Regions from separate parts of the Homo sapiens genome. Here regions 1 and 3 are each linked to region 2. The links are contacts of gene promoters, found by promoter capture Hi-C in blood cells and fetal thymus (Javierre and others, 2016). All regions are on one chromosome and are shown on one strand. Each heading gives the region's core, a stretch centred on a gene start or on the middle of the fragment in contact. The rest is flanking DNA. Distances are from core to core; before and after follow the strand shown.

Evidence for each region. The method cuts DNA at HindIII sites, captures the fragments that hold promoters and counts their contacts. A CHiCAGO score of 5 or more calls a contact.
Region 1: a fragment that was not itself captured here is called in contact with the fragment with the promoter of LINC02275 in region 2 in 2 of 17 cell types (M2 macrophages and megakaryocytes); the score reaches 5.6 in M2 macrophages.
Region 3: the fragment with the promoter of HPF1 here is called in contact with the fragment with the promoter of LINC02275 in region 2 in 2 of 17 cell types (megakaryocytes and total B cells); the score reaches 6.6 in megakaryocytes.

What each region holds. Positions count from the first base shown.
Region 1 is chr4:169,807,132-169,812,171 of GRCh38, forward strand. No RefSeq gene overlaps it. Among named protein-coding and RNA genes, the nearest start is that of HPF1, 52 kb to the left of the region's middle. The HindIII fragment of the contact is 726 bases long and covers 3,011-3,736 here.
Region 2 is chr4:169,973,842-169,978,489 of GRCh38, forward strand. It overlaps LINC02275 (long intergenic non-protein coding RNA 2275), which reads right to left and starts at 2,061. Exons shown (of 5, transcript NR_037878.1): 1 at 1,975-2,061. RefSeq lists an enhancer at 2,065-2,808. The HindIII fragment of the contact is 11,870 bases long and covers 1-4,648 here.
Region 3 is chr4:169,755,213-169,759,555 of GRCh38, forward strand. HPF1 (histone PARylation factor 1) reads right to left here and starts at 2,732. Exons shown (of 8, transcript NM_017867.3): 1 at 2,618-2,732. The coding sequence starts at 2,665. LOC107986240 (a long non-coding RNA gene) reads left to right here and starts at 2,851. Exons shown (of 3, transcript XR_001741529.2): 1 at 2,851-3,012. RefSeq lists an enhancer at 2,580-2,649. The HindIII fragment of the contact is 1,294 bases long and covers 2,519-3,812 here.

The DNA.
Region 1 (5,040 bases), core at 2,124-4,623, 170 kb before region 2:
AGCTCACCATCATGTCCAGCTAATTTTCGTGTTTTGATAGAGACGGGGTTTCACCATGTTGTCCAGGCTGGTCTCGAATTTCTGACCTCAAGTGATCCACCCACCTCAGCCTCCCAAAGTGCTGGGATTACAGGCATGAATCACTGCACTCAGCCCTCACCTCTACATTTAGGAAAACAAACAAAGTACCCCAGTTTGGTAGTGTCTCAGGTAATGTTCCCTGGAAAGTGGACTCTGAGATGGAAGCCAGTAGGCAGGAAGTTTATCAAGGAGGATTCTTTGGATTTACACCTGTGGGTATGCAGGAAAGGGAGCAAGAGAGTGCAAGGGAAAAGTTGAGTGGTAATGATGTCTTGGCAAAGGGCTCAGCTGACCCTATGGGGAATGCTGAAACTGAAGCCCTTTTTGAATTTTCTCAAGTGGCAGGGGCTGGACTTTGATACCACACTTTGACCAGTCATCAGACACAGGCTGCCCCCAGAAAGAGGGGGTGACCTTGAGTGATTTGGCTCTTTTAGACAGAAAGTGATTCCCAGAGTGCTGCCAGCACCCCCAGCAGCTGAAGGCCTGCCTTCCTGAAAGGGATGCTCATCACTGTGTCCGCTCCATCTCACATCTGCTCTTCTGGGATTCTGCTTAGAAACCAGCAATTGCACAAGAGATTCAAGCTTGTGATGTTAAATGCTATAAGTAAAATGGGGTCATGATTTTATTTGTCCCTCTTGGACTTGTGGAATCTTTCTATCTTCTCTTTGAGGATTCAGTCTTGTTTTTCTTTTCTTTCTGAAGACTAATTATGAAGAACGAGACAAACGTACCAAAATCTGAAATGGTCAACTCAATACCCCATCTAAAGCAAATGGGAAAACATTTGTTTCTTGCCCTAAAGAAGAGAATTTTTTCCCCTTTATGGGATTGAGATGGTAAAGATTTCTGATTCAGGCTGGGAGCTGTCAGAACAAATAAAGCAATTCTGTTTAAACACTTTCCTTTCGTCTATCTTTGAAATGAATTACCAAATTAAGCCACCTAAGTGCACTCTTAACTCTTGGTTCTCTTCCTCATATTTTGTTTCCTGTTTCATATGGAAATTATGTTTTCTTCTCTGCTTAGTGTCAGATGCTTCTATGGGAAATTCTCCAATAATGTCCTCAGATGATCTCCCACATTCAAATGTGGTTTTTCTCGGCTGGAAGGCGTGGGCTCCTTATTCAATCTCATTCTAACTCTCAGACAATTTTAGAGGCTGGTGTTTCTTTTCCTAACCAGAACATGCTTTCTGCTTTGGGGCCACAAAAATCTATTTTTATTTCATACCAGTGACTGAAAACTTTGTGATACAATGGGCATGAAATAAGCAGGAAATTCAAAATAATATTTTTTATGGTTTTGTGTGGCATAGGTTTTTTCCACATATATTCACACTAAGCATCTCTATGGAAAAAAATATATGAATTCTGATTTTTTACTTCCCTTAATCTGTTGGCCAGAATGCTCAGGTTATGTTACTTTGAATAGAATGTTTAGAAATGGACATTCCCTTTCTCTCCTGCTCAGAGTTTAAGCAGTTCCTTGAACAACCAAGGTACTAACCATAAATTTCTTCATTGGTTGGTTGTCTCTTACTACTCAAACCTTAGGCCCTGATTTTTTCATGTTTGTTCTCCTTGCTGTGATTTTGGAAGGCAGACTGGTACAAAAGAGACCCCTGACTGGGTACCTGGCAGCTTCTCAGAAGGGAGGCAGTGGAAACTACAGGATGCATTCCTCTATGATTTTTTTTTTTTTTTTTTGAGACAAGGTCTCACTCTGTCACCCAGGCCGTAGTGCAGCAGTGCACTTGCTGCTAACTGGCAGCATCAGCCTCCTGGGCTCAAGCGATCCTCCCGCCTCAGCCTCCTGAGTAGCTGGGATTACAGGTGTGCACCACCATGCCCGACTCATCTTCTGTGTTTTTTGTAGAGATGGGGTTTTGCCATGTTTCCCAGGCTGGTCTTGAACTCCTGAGCTCAAGTGATCTGCCTGCCTTGCCTCCCAAAGTGCTTGGATTACAGATGTGAGCCACCACTCCTGGTCTTGCCTGGCTTCTTAATTAAACATCAGTTGTGAGATTGATCCATATTCTTTTGTCTGTCGTCAAAGATAGTTCATGGTCTTTGCTGTGTTGGAATTCATCTTTAAACCTCCTTTTCCCTCACCCCTTCTTTTATCTCATGACCAAATCCTGTCAATGTCATCTTCAAATCTATCTAAAGTCTCACTCCTTCCACTGGCAGTACTTCCTGCTTGAAGGCTGCTTTGTCTTTTGATCCATGTCCTCACTTCCATTCCTGTTTCCCTCTCCTCCTGTCTACACATGCAGCTGGCGGGACAGTTACAAAAAAGCAGAGTATACCAGGTTATTCACATACTTGAAACATGTCATGAGTTCCCAGTGCATTTAGGATAGTTCCCTCGGCCTGCACGTGGTCTGTGAAGCCCTGTGTGAACTGGCTTGTGCCTGACACCGTCCCCCGCCCTCTCTGGGCACCTCTGCAGCTCCATTTTGTTCTTCCAGTTCCTCCCAAGAGTCAAGCTTTTCCCTGTCCTCAACGTTGGTATATGTGATTTTTTTTCTACTTAGTTTCCCACTCTCCCTTGACCTGGCAAATTCCTGCTCTGTCATTTCTCAGAGAGACCACCTCCAATGTTCTTGTCTACATTAAATCTTCCTGTTATTTTCACTGGCAGTGATTGCCACACCTAACACCAACATTTATTGCATTTACCAACACAACTGTTAGAGTAACTGTCTAATGCTTGTCTTCCCGCTAGACTGTGGACACTGTGGGGCCGGGTCTTTTTGTTTGCTGTTGTATCTGCAGCATCTAGCACAGTGTCATGTATGTAATGGCTGCTCAGAAAATGAGCAAATTAAAGCAGAGTCTCAGGAACTATGACAAAGTTTACCTGAACATGTAAATGAGATGTCAATGAAGGGGACTTTTCATTTACACCTTTTCGGATCTGAAGCTTTTCAGCTGAAAATAGGTAGATTGGGTATCAGGATTTCTGAGCATCTTGCAGCTCAACCAATCAAGGCAGGCAAACATTCACTTAATAAGCTGCTCTGACCAAAGCTCATTCTTTCATTTTAAGAAATACCGTCCCTGAATTACAAGCAGCATAAACACCATCCCAGAGTGACACTTTGAATGAAACATTAGAGCTGACTGTGTCCATATTAACCCCATAGGCAACAACATTCATCCCTGTCCTCTGTTACTGTTCTTCTCCTCCACTACTGTAGCAAATACACAATATATAATGTAGTAAATAAATGTGCAGCGAATAAAACGACAGATAAGAAGCTGACCTAACTCTGGATTGCCAATGGCTTTTTAGACCACAAGAGGGAGCTGTTTAAACTCTTGTTAACAAGGAAACAATTGAGGGAGAAGAAATTTGGCAATCCTGAGGTTGGCCAGATGGGCACCTATTTATATGATATTGACTCTGGAATTACATTTATTTTTAAGTTACAAAAGTTTTAATTCTTTTTATCTGCAATGTAATTAGCATTTTAAATAGTGATATTAAAGGCAATGAGTTGTTTTTGTCTTAAAATCTAATTTTGTCTCATTTAACTAGTTTGGAAAAGTGTAAATATTTAATTAAGGGACAAGGAGATGAAGACTACTTTCATACTAAATCTATTTCCTAAATACTTACTAATAAACCGCCTCATGAACAAATAAGCTTTTCTTTAAAAAATACTGTTTCTTTCAATAGTCTATATGGTCTTAAATATTTAAATATGTGTGCAAATCAGATTTTTTAAAAAGATATACACAAACTATGACTTGAGAACTCCTTTCTTAAGAACACTGCAGTCTAATTATAGACATATTTACATACCATGAACCCAGTTATATGACAGCTACCCTTGCCAACCCTCCTGGTCACCCTGAGAATGAATGCAGTTAAATTATCTAAAGGGACCTGACCCAAGGGCAGAGTGTGTTTTTCTACAAAGGGGCCAGTGAGAGGGCACATCGGTGGGAGTCAAATGACCAATCGTAATAACAGTAGTGACATTCATGGAGTGTTTATACAGGCCAGGCACTGTGCTTAAAGCACCGTACATGGACTAGATCATTAATTCCTTCCAAAGCTGCAAGGTAGCTTCTATTACTGTTTTTATTTTAGAGATGAAAAAACAGAAGGGTTAAATAACTTATAGAAGATCACAGAGCTATTAAGTGGGGAGCCAGGATTTGAATCCCCCTGCAGAGGAAGGCTCACTAAATGTGATTCTCCTCAACTGGCAAGTCTGACTGTGGGTTAAAGCATCAGGCCTCTGGGTGAAATGCTTCTTTTCCTGCAATGGACCAAATCTGTACATTGTTATCTTCATTTTGAACAGTGGGATTCTGCCAAGATTCTCTTCTTCCCATAAAATGTTTTGTCCTAAGAAGGGAGAGAAAGCTTTTGTCGTTGTACACTGGGCTCCATATCCAGGATGATTGTCAGTGAATAGGAAATGTGTTAAAGATGATGGTTTCCTGCTGATTCACTTCTGTGACGTCAAGACTTATGGGAATACAGACAAACTTATCTGAATGACAGACATCACTTAATGTAAAAAGGGAAGCCAGCAAAATGTTCTAAGACAGAGGACTTCTAAAAAATTCCAACAGTTTACCATAGTGGTCCTAGAACCTAAGTGTGTTTTGAGTAAATATTCAAACATGTCCTATGAGCAGAAACATAAATGTCATCTTCCTGGCTCATGGTGGGACTGTGGCCCATTTGTTATAGGGGAATTAGGGGGTTAAGAATCCCCTTGCTAATGATTATCTATTGCCATTCTGCATTTTCTCCTTACCCTACCCTCAGTCCTATTCCTAACTGGGATCTTTAAGTACTTAGAAAACCCTGCTGGCCCAGCGCAGTGGCTCATGCTTATAATCCCAGCACTTTGGGAGGCTAAGGTGGAACCAATTGCTTGAGCCCAGGAGTTCAAGATCAGCCTGGGCAACACGGCAGCATCCTGTCTCT
Region 2 (4,648 bases), core at 811-3,310:
TTTTGAGATGGAGTCTTGCTCTTTCGCCCAGGCTGGAGTGCAATGGCGTGATCTTGGCTCACTGCAACCTCTGCCTCCTGGGTTCAAGTGATTCTCCTGCCTCCGCCTCCTGAGTAGCTGGGATTACAGGTGCGTGCCACCACGACCAGCTAATTCTTGTATTTTTAGTAGAAACGGGGTTTCACCATGCTGGTCAGGCTGGTCTCGAACTCCTGACCTTGTGATCCACCCACTTCGTTCTCCCAAAGTGCTGGGATTACAGGCATGAGCCACTGTACCTGGCTGGCTCCTCCCTCTCTCTTGTGCCGGAAACCATCTGTTGCAGGGTCCCTGATGATGCCATCTTAGAAATGTCTCTTACAATCCTTCCTTGTGAACCACCCTCACTGCCACTAACCTAGGTCAGACCTCATCAGCAGCCTCCTGAAGTGCCCTCTTGCCTCCACTTTTTCTCCATTCATCGTTCTAAAGCTGGGGTTTGCCAGGCCCACTCACTTCTTAGTGAGTCCACACTGTCCGAGTGGTAGGGCCAGAGCTTGCACATGGTCATTCAAGGTCCCTGAGTCAGCTGCAGCTGATGATGCCCACCTTCTTCCTCATGCCACCTGCATCATATTCCAGAGTCCAGTCAAGTGCAGCCTTGCCCTTATGACCATGCCCTCTTATTTGACATTGAGTCTCTTTCTTGGAAAGTCTTTCTTCCTTACATTTATCTGTTCAAATCTTATCTACCATTCACAGATTATCTGAAATTATCTTTTTCTTCACAAGGTTCTCCTGATTCCTCCAAGTCAGAAGTATGCTATGCCCTCCCTTGAATTTCACTAAGATTTTATCTCTTTATCAATGAAGGCATTTATTACTGGTATTTACTACTTTCTTCTATTTATAATAGTTATTCACTGCATATCTGATGCAGTCTCCAAAAAGGTGAAGTTCTTCAGGACAGGAACCATTTTTGTTCACTTTTGTGTTATCTTTGGAGCATGTTATTTCCTTGACCATTGCAACCCCAATAAAGAAAATTGAATTACTGCAAAGTGACTGGCTTTCTGCTTCTTCTGGGTGTCCAAACCTTATCAGCTGATTAATTAAAATGTAATAAAGAAAAAAGGAAAATTATTTGATTCAGCTGATCAGTCATGAGGAAGACTTCTTTAAGGAGTGATGAATTTAGAGTTATGTCAGATACAAAATAGGATATCTTAGTTTTCTGTTTCAGAGATAGTCTTAATCAGAAAGACACTTTTAATAACATAAGTGCTTCAGGATTATTCACCAAATTTATAAGCATTTTTTGGTTTTCATCTGAAGATTATTACTTGAACTTTACAAAAGAATGATTGCTTTGCTTCGTTGAGAAGCATCACTTTCTGATGAGTCAGGATGTACCAATATCAAGATGAGGGATATTTTTATAAAAACAAACATCTATTTTTTTCCTGGCCAACTTTTCTACTCATCAGAATTAGTGCACTGCTCTTCACTTGTAGGAATCCTGATGAGACACGCAATTACCTAGTTACCAATTAACATAAAGAAGATCTTGTGGAACTTCGGGAATCCCTAATCAGCTGGTCTGCAGAAAAACAACACAGCCCACAGGCGCGCATGGGGGAATTATGAGAAATATTTGGAATCACTGTCCACATTTTCTTATCCTTACACATTTTTCCAGCTATTTGTCTTAAATTTAATACACAGTATGAAGTAGAAATAGACCCAGGGTTATTAGATCAGAGAAACTGATCAGGGTAAATATGTCCTATTCATTTCTACAGACTGATTGCTTACCGGGTAAGAAGAGAATGTAACTCCATACCACAATAGGATTTGTTCCCATTCAGTTTAAGAACAGATTACAAAGTAAGCACTTTCATAATTGGTGAAATTAAATTCCTGAGTATTTAGTAAGAACAAGGAAGATTTTATTTGCACAATATTCTCATAAAAGTAAAAAACAACTGAGCCTACCTTCCATCCATATCTGGATCTAACATTTCCTTCAACAGGTGGTGATAAAGAGGCCACGAGGCACTCAGAGAAGCACAGCAAGTAAGTAGAAAGAAGTGATTTACACAGAGAGTTCAAAAGGATTTCTACCATTTAGTTAAATAATACCTAGAGTCCAGACTCTTGTGACCCTGCAAATGCTGGGAAAGAGGATTTACAGCGAGGTTGGGCGGGGCTGATGTTACATAAGAAAGCAGCCACTGAGCCACGCACACTGCCAGATGCCAGGTCAGCCAGGAGCTCAGGGATCCAAGGCCCCTCTCAGACTCCTGGTGCAGCGATTATAGAGTTCAGCCATTTAGGAGAGTGTGACAGAGTGGCGGCAGATGGCCCCTAGCAGAAATAAGTTTTGAATCTGGCTCTGAATCCCACCCTCACTACTGCCTCTAGAATGTCATTAAACTTAAGCAGAGGAGAGGAATGTCAGAACCAAGACAAAGAACTGTCTTTGGTTGAGAGGGTGTTTCTGTCCACTTGCTGTGCCATGCAGGACGTGAGACGGGATAGGGAGATTTCATGTGTGTCATAGGCTGATGTGGTTCTGCCATTGTAAGATCAGCCCTCTTGACATAGTGACTGTTTCCGAGAATAATCATAATGAATCACAAACCTGTTAGCACTTTTTTCTCCTCCTTACCTGCCTCTGGCTGCCAGCGAAGTGCTGGGTTGAAAGTGTGTGAAGTGTGTGCACGTGCACACATGAACACGTGCAGGTGTGGTGGGAAGGGGGCACATGGGTGTGTAAGCAGTCTGTCACATAGGGAAGCAGTTCAGGGCCCAATAGCTTGAGGCCTCTGAGATGAGTTTACTTGTCCTGAAGAACAAGGGTGAACAAAGGCAGTGTTCTCATGGTGGTGACAGCAGCGGGGTGCAGGTCAGTGGAGGCTCAGAAAGGGGAAAGTTAAAATGAGCTATGAGGTCCAGCAATCCGGACAATAAGAAGGAGTCAGGTGAGTGGAGATAAATTAGGCCTGATCACCTTGAAGTTTGGAAAGAGAGGTGGAATTAAGGAGATACACTGGCTTATCCTTCAAAGCCCCCTATAAAACATGTGGAAACATTAACTCACAGCATTGAAAACGGATGTTTGGACATTTTTTATGTGTGTTAGGGGGTGCATATGGTGACCAAGAATGTCTGGAGGTGACCAGAGATAACTGTGGCAGAAATATGAGAACCAGTAAAAGCCAATATTTCCTGGAGGATATCAGCAATTGCCTGTGTAAATTTAAGCACTGGCCTATCTGTGAGTATCTGGCTAACTTTAAGACAGAAGGAAAACAAAGGAATTCATTACCCCCTGGAGGCTGAGGACAAAGCCAGGGATCTGGTCCAGCCTTTCCCCATAAGAAGACCAAGACAGGGAGGCATATGAAGACCAGGAATATAGTTCTCCAGTTCCATCCATGTTATGTTAAGTGAAATAATCCAGGAACAGAACGGTAAACAGTGCATGTTCTCACTCACATGTGGAAGCTAAAAGAGCTGATCTCATAGAAGTAATAAGTGCTACAGAGGAGACTAGAGGCTGGGAAGAGGAAGAGAGGGAAGACGAAGGAGGTAAGGGAGAGATAGGGATATATTTGATAAAAGGATACTAAATTACAGCTAAATAGGAGGAATAAGTTCCAGTGTTCTATACCATTATAGGATGACTAAAGTTAACAATTATTTTTACATATTTTCAAATAGCTGGAAGGGGGATATTGAATGTTCCCAACACAAAGAAATGATAAATGGCCAGGCGCAGTGGCTCACGCCTGTAATCCCAGCACTTTGGGAGGCTGAGATGGGTGGATCACCTCAGGTCAGGAGTTTGAAACCAGCCTGGCCAACATGGTGAAACCCTGTCTCTATTAAAAATACAAAAATTAGTGGGGTGCGGTGGTGGGTGCCTGTAATCCCAGCTACTCAGAAGGCTGAGGCAGGAGAATCGCTTGAACCTGGAGGGCGGAGGTTGCAGTGATCCGAGATCGCACCACTGCACTCCAGCCTGGGCAAAAGAGTGAGACTCCATCTCCAAAAAACAAACAAAAAAAAAGATAAATGTTTGAGACAATGGATATGCTAGTTACCTTGATCTGATCACAGCACATTATATGTATTAAAACATCACTATGGTACCCCCATGAATATGTGCAATTATTATCTGAGAATTAAAAAAGACAAGGAGAAACTGGACTTCTCTGAGGAAGTAGGAGGTAATGGTAATTTCTTGGAAAAATGAAGCGGCAGCAAGCTACAGAAGTCCTTCTTTCCATGAGCGGTGTGAACGGTGCTCCTGAACATCCACAGGCACTGGCTGGGTAAAACGAAATGTGATCGATCTCAAAATGCACAGGCTCGAGATTTTGGAGTCAATACATGTTTAAATTGGCATATCATGCTAGTTATGTCTATATCTACTCCTGTCTCAGTCTTCAAATAATTCCCTCGCTTAACGAGCTGTATTTTCCTCTTCTTGCAGCAATGAGATTCACCAGTGCTGCCCTGTTTGCGGCCTGAAAGCAAATCAGGGAAGACAGACACCTTCTCATTTAGGAAAGGAAAATTTAAACTCATCAGCTGCTTATGGGTTACTTTTCTATTTTTTCTTTTCTTTTTTTCTTTTTTCTTTTCTTTTTTTTTTTTTTTG
Region 3 (4,343 bases), core at 1,482-3,981, 220 kb before region 2:
ATACCTATTGTTAGGAGAACAGTTGTAAGGTTTTCAAACAATAGACTATTACACTTAATATTACAGTTGACCCTTGAGCAACAAGGGTTTGAATTTTGTGGACCCACTTATACATGAATTTTTTTTCCAACCAAATGCAAATAAAAAAATACAGTATTCTTGGGATGTGAAATCCACTTATAGAGAGGGCCAACTTTTCGTATACTCGGGTTCCACAGGACCAACTTTGGAACTTGGGTATGCTCAGATTTGGGGATATATGGAAATTTGTTACTGTATACTAGACTATTAACTGTGTTATCTTTGGCTAATGAGATGGTTTGTTTTCTTGTTGCTTTAAAAATTAGTGTATGCTCTCCTAAGGTCCTGGAACCAATCTCCGTCATTTACCGAATGGTTACTCTATGGCTACACAATATGGACCAACCTATATTCAATATTTTTAATGAGGAAAAAAGCTCTTGATTATATGCAGCATGATAGCCTTTTTATGAAGTTCAAAAACTAAGAATAAATATTGTTTAGGTATACACTCATGGGAGATAAGCCTATTTTTAAAAGGCAAGGGAAAACAAAATTCAGGATAGCTACACTGAAAATAATTGACAGGAAGAAGGCTGAACGGATAGGAGAGGAACACGTGTAGATGTAGAGCTATTGTCTGTTTCAGCTTTGGGATTGGGCAATGGGTTCACTGGTGTTTGTTACATTACTTAACATAAATAAGGTCAAAGACGATCATGAATATGGTAACAGTTTATTATGCCAAGGATTATAATGTGTCTGATTTATAAAAAAAATTACGTTCAACAAAAAGCCTGTTGAACAATGAATCCAAAAGTGAGTATCAATAATAGCAAATAGTAATAGTAAAGATAATATAATAGTAAAAACAAGTAGTTAAGTGATACTTACTGAGAACTTATTTTGTGCTGTTTCACTGTTCTAAGCACCTTCTGTGGATTAACTCATTTAGTCCTCAACTGTCTCATGCACTAGATACCATTAACCTCATCGTACAGCTGAGGAAACTGAGGTTAACCTCCCTACGTCCCTAACTAGGAAGTGGAAGAGAAGGGATTTAAACTCAGGTTTAAATCTGGGTCCACAGCAGATCCTCAACCACTTCACTATGCTGCTTCTCCAACATCAAATATAGAACAGTAGGAACATATGAAGTCCTGAGCTATCCTATCTTCTGTTTTCATAACTGTCTTTGTTCAGACGTTCAAAGACTGGCTCCAACTTAAGATGTTAGAAAAGGCTTAATCTGCCTTGCTGAAAGGCAGTTTTGCATAATAGTTAGGTTGCCTGGGTTGACTCCTGACTCTACTGATTTCCAACCTTAGGCAAGTTACTTAACCTCTCTGTGCTTTGTTTTCTCATCTGCAAAAAGGGCATACAGTGCCTATATCGGGGTTGTTACAAGGAATGTTATTATATGTAAAAATACACAGAACGGTCCTAGCACATAATATACAAATGCTGGCCATTACGGTTATAGTCTCTACAGACTCATCTTCATTTCTGTTATTGTATTTCTAGTTAAGCACATCACTCCACCAAAGCAGTTCTTCACTGCACCTTCAAAAAGAGAATTTTTTCAGCTGTGCCTTTACTCACACACTAGTTCAGCATCTCCATAGCCCTAACAACTAGGATTTAGAACAGCTGTCCCCTTCAGAGGCTACACTTCTTCTTTACCCTGGTCTTCCTAGAATGCATGACCCAATATGAAGGATGCCTATACCGATGGCCCTTTAACAGTTAGTTAAGCCCTCTAAGAATGTCTCACCCTGTCCGATTTATGACACTACCAGAGTAACTTTTCTAAAACTTTAGTTATCACAATGGCACTTCTTTCCTGATTCCCCTTATTGCTACTGTAGTGGTTACAGAACTTCCGAAATCGTAGTAAAGTATGAGAATGCACACACTCTCTCCTCCTCCCCTCTCAGTAGTGCTTTTATGATCAGGTCCCTCTTATTTTCCCATTTCCCTGGCTCCAGCCAAGCCGAACGCTCCGCTACGCCCAAACATCTCCTACAGTTTTATGTCTCAGAATCTTACTTCTCTGCCTTCAAAACCAATTTTCAAAGAGTTGTCTTAAAAGTCTTCTTTAACACCCCCTGGGACTTGTTAAATCCTCCTTCAGTGTTTCCATAGCACTTTCTACACACCAGCGTTATAATCCCAAACAAAAAAGTCACAGTAGAATGCATATTTGCTTGTGCCCCTCCTCCCCAGGCCGAGGGCTCAACAAGCAGCAGGAGCAAGCAGGTTGACCCCCAAATCCGCAGCGCCCCACAGAATGTCAGGTATGTAATCGGTTCCCAATCAATCTGGCTGGGCGAATGAACCATTGGTTGGCTTAATCCGTTTCCCCAGGAAATGCTCCAAGAGGAGCTGGGCAGAAGATGCAGAGGAGCTACTTTCCTGGTCCAACCCCCTGCAGAGCGCGAAACAGCGGCCCTGGGCAGGATCCCCGCAGCAAACCGCAGCCCCTGGACACACAGCAAGCTTAATAGTCACTGGATGAATGAAAAGCGCTGCCTCCTGGTGCCCTGGCTGTCACCCAAAGCGCCCCGCGTAGCCCGCACAGCCTTTCCGGCAGTACCTGCGGCCCCTCTCCGCCGGGCCTGCGCTTCCCGCCACCGCCGACCATTCTGCAGCTGCAGCGCCAGCAGAATTCCCCGATCCGCGGCCGCTTCCGAGCGCCGCCAACCGCTTCCGGGTTCAAAAGCCTCCAAGCCGAATTTCAGCGCCGCCCGGGCTCGCCAATTTAGGGGAAAGGCTCCGCCCATTCCCCGCCCCCTGAGACCTGGCACCGGACGCGTTGAGGCCCCGCCCACTCCCGTGCTGGGCGCGTGCAAGGAGCGTCTTCTGTCAGCGTAGTCTGCATCTAGGCTTTCTGGAGCATCTTCCAGGGTCGCTCCAGAGACCCCCCAGACTACTGAATCTGAATCCTTAGAGTGGTCCAACCTTCCTCTTCAGGTGTCTACTAGAGGCAAGGTTGGATGTATGCGGCTGTTCTCAATACAGCCCCTTCCTTGTTTTTTCTTCATTTATATTTACTTAAAATATTAATCCTTTTCTCCTTCTCCTCCATCCCTCTCCCTACCCTACTGTACGGTTATTGGCTTACACTAATTCATTCCCGATTGTCTCCAAGAAGGAAATAAATGTCTGTCGGTCTCTGTCTCTGTACCGTCGTCTTCTTGGTACAATTTGGACTGTTTTTCCTCTACACCGCTGATATGCAAAGTGTAGTCCCTGAACCAGCGGCCTCAGCATCCTGAGGGAATTTGTTAAAACGCCAAATCTCAGGCCTTACCCAGACTTACTGAATCAATATCTGCATCGCAACAAGATCCCCTGGTAATTCCTATGCACATAAAATTTGGAAGGCACAACTCTCAACTGATGTCCTTGGACCTCCTTCACATCCATCCTGGGAAGGTCTTATTCCTCATTCCTGAGATGAGTTCTCTATTTCCTCAATCTGGGTGTTCCTTTTTCTTGATTATATACCCTCATGTTGTGGAACATATCCGCCAATAGTTCCTTGAGAGAGGTTGCTGCCAGGTCTTTTTTCCCACAGAGTGTGCATGTCTGGAAATGTTTTTATTCTGGCTGAGCACAGTTCTAGGTTGAAAATAACTTTCACTCGGAATATTGGAGGGCTTGCTCCGCAATATTTTAGCTTCCAGAATTGTTAAGAAACTATGTCGTTATATTTCCTTCTCCTTCACAGGTCACTAAATTTCTTGATATGTAACCTGCTTTCCTTTCTGTTTTGTTTTGTCTCAAGAAGCTTTAGGATCTTTTCTCTGTTTCCAGTGTTTTTTGTTTTGTTTTGTTTTGTTTTGTTTTTTTTGAGACGGAGTCTCGCTCTGTTGCCCAGGCTGGAGTGCAGTGGTGCCACCTCAGCTCACTGCAAGCTCCACCTCCCGGGTTCACACCGTTCTCCTACCTCAGCCTCCGGAGTAGCTGGGACTACAGGCGCCCGCCACCACGCCCAGCTAATTTTTTTTTTTTTTGTATTTTTAGTAGAGACGGGGTTTCACCGTGTTAGCCAGGATGGTCTCGATCTCCTGACCTCGTGATCCGCCCTCCTCGGCCTCCCAAAGTGCTGGGATGACGGGTGTGAGCCACCGCGTCCGGCCTATTCCCAGTGTTCTAAAACACTATTGAGTGTCTTGGTTATGGGTCTTTTCTCATTCCTATCGACCAGTTTTTCAATCCTGAAACACATGTTCTTCAGTTATGGGAATTCTTCTGGTATTATTTATTTGATCATTTCTTCCCCCCCACCCCCCATCGTATCTCTTCTTTTTTGAAAT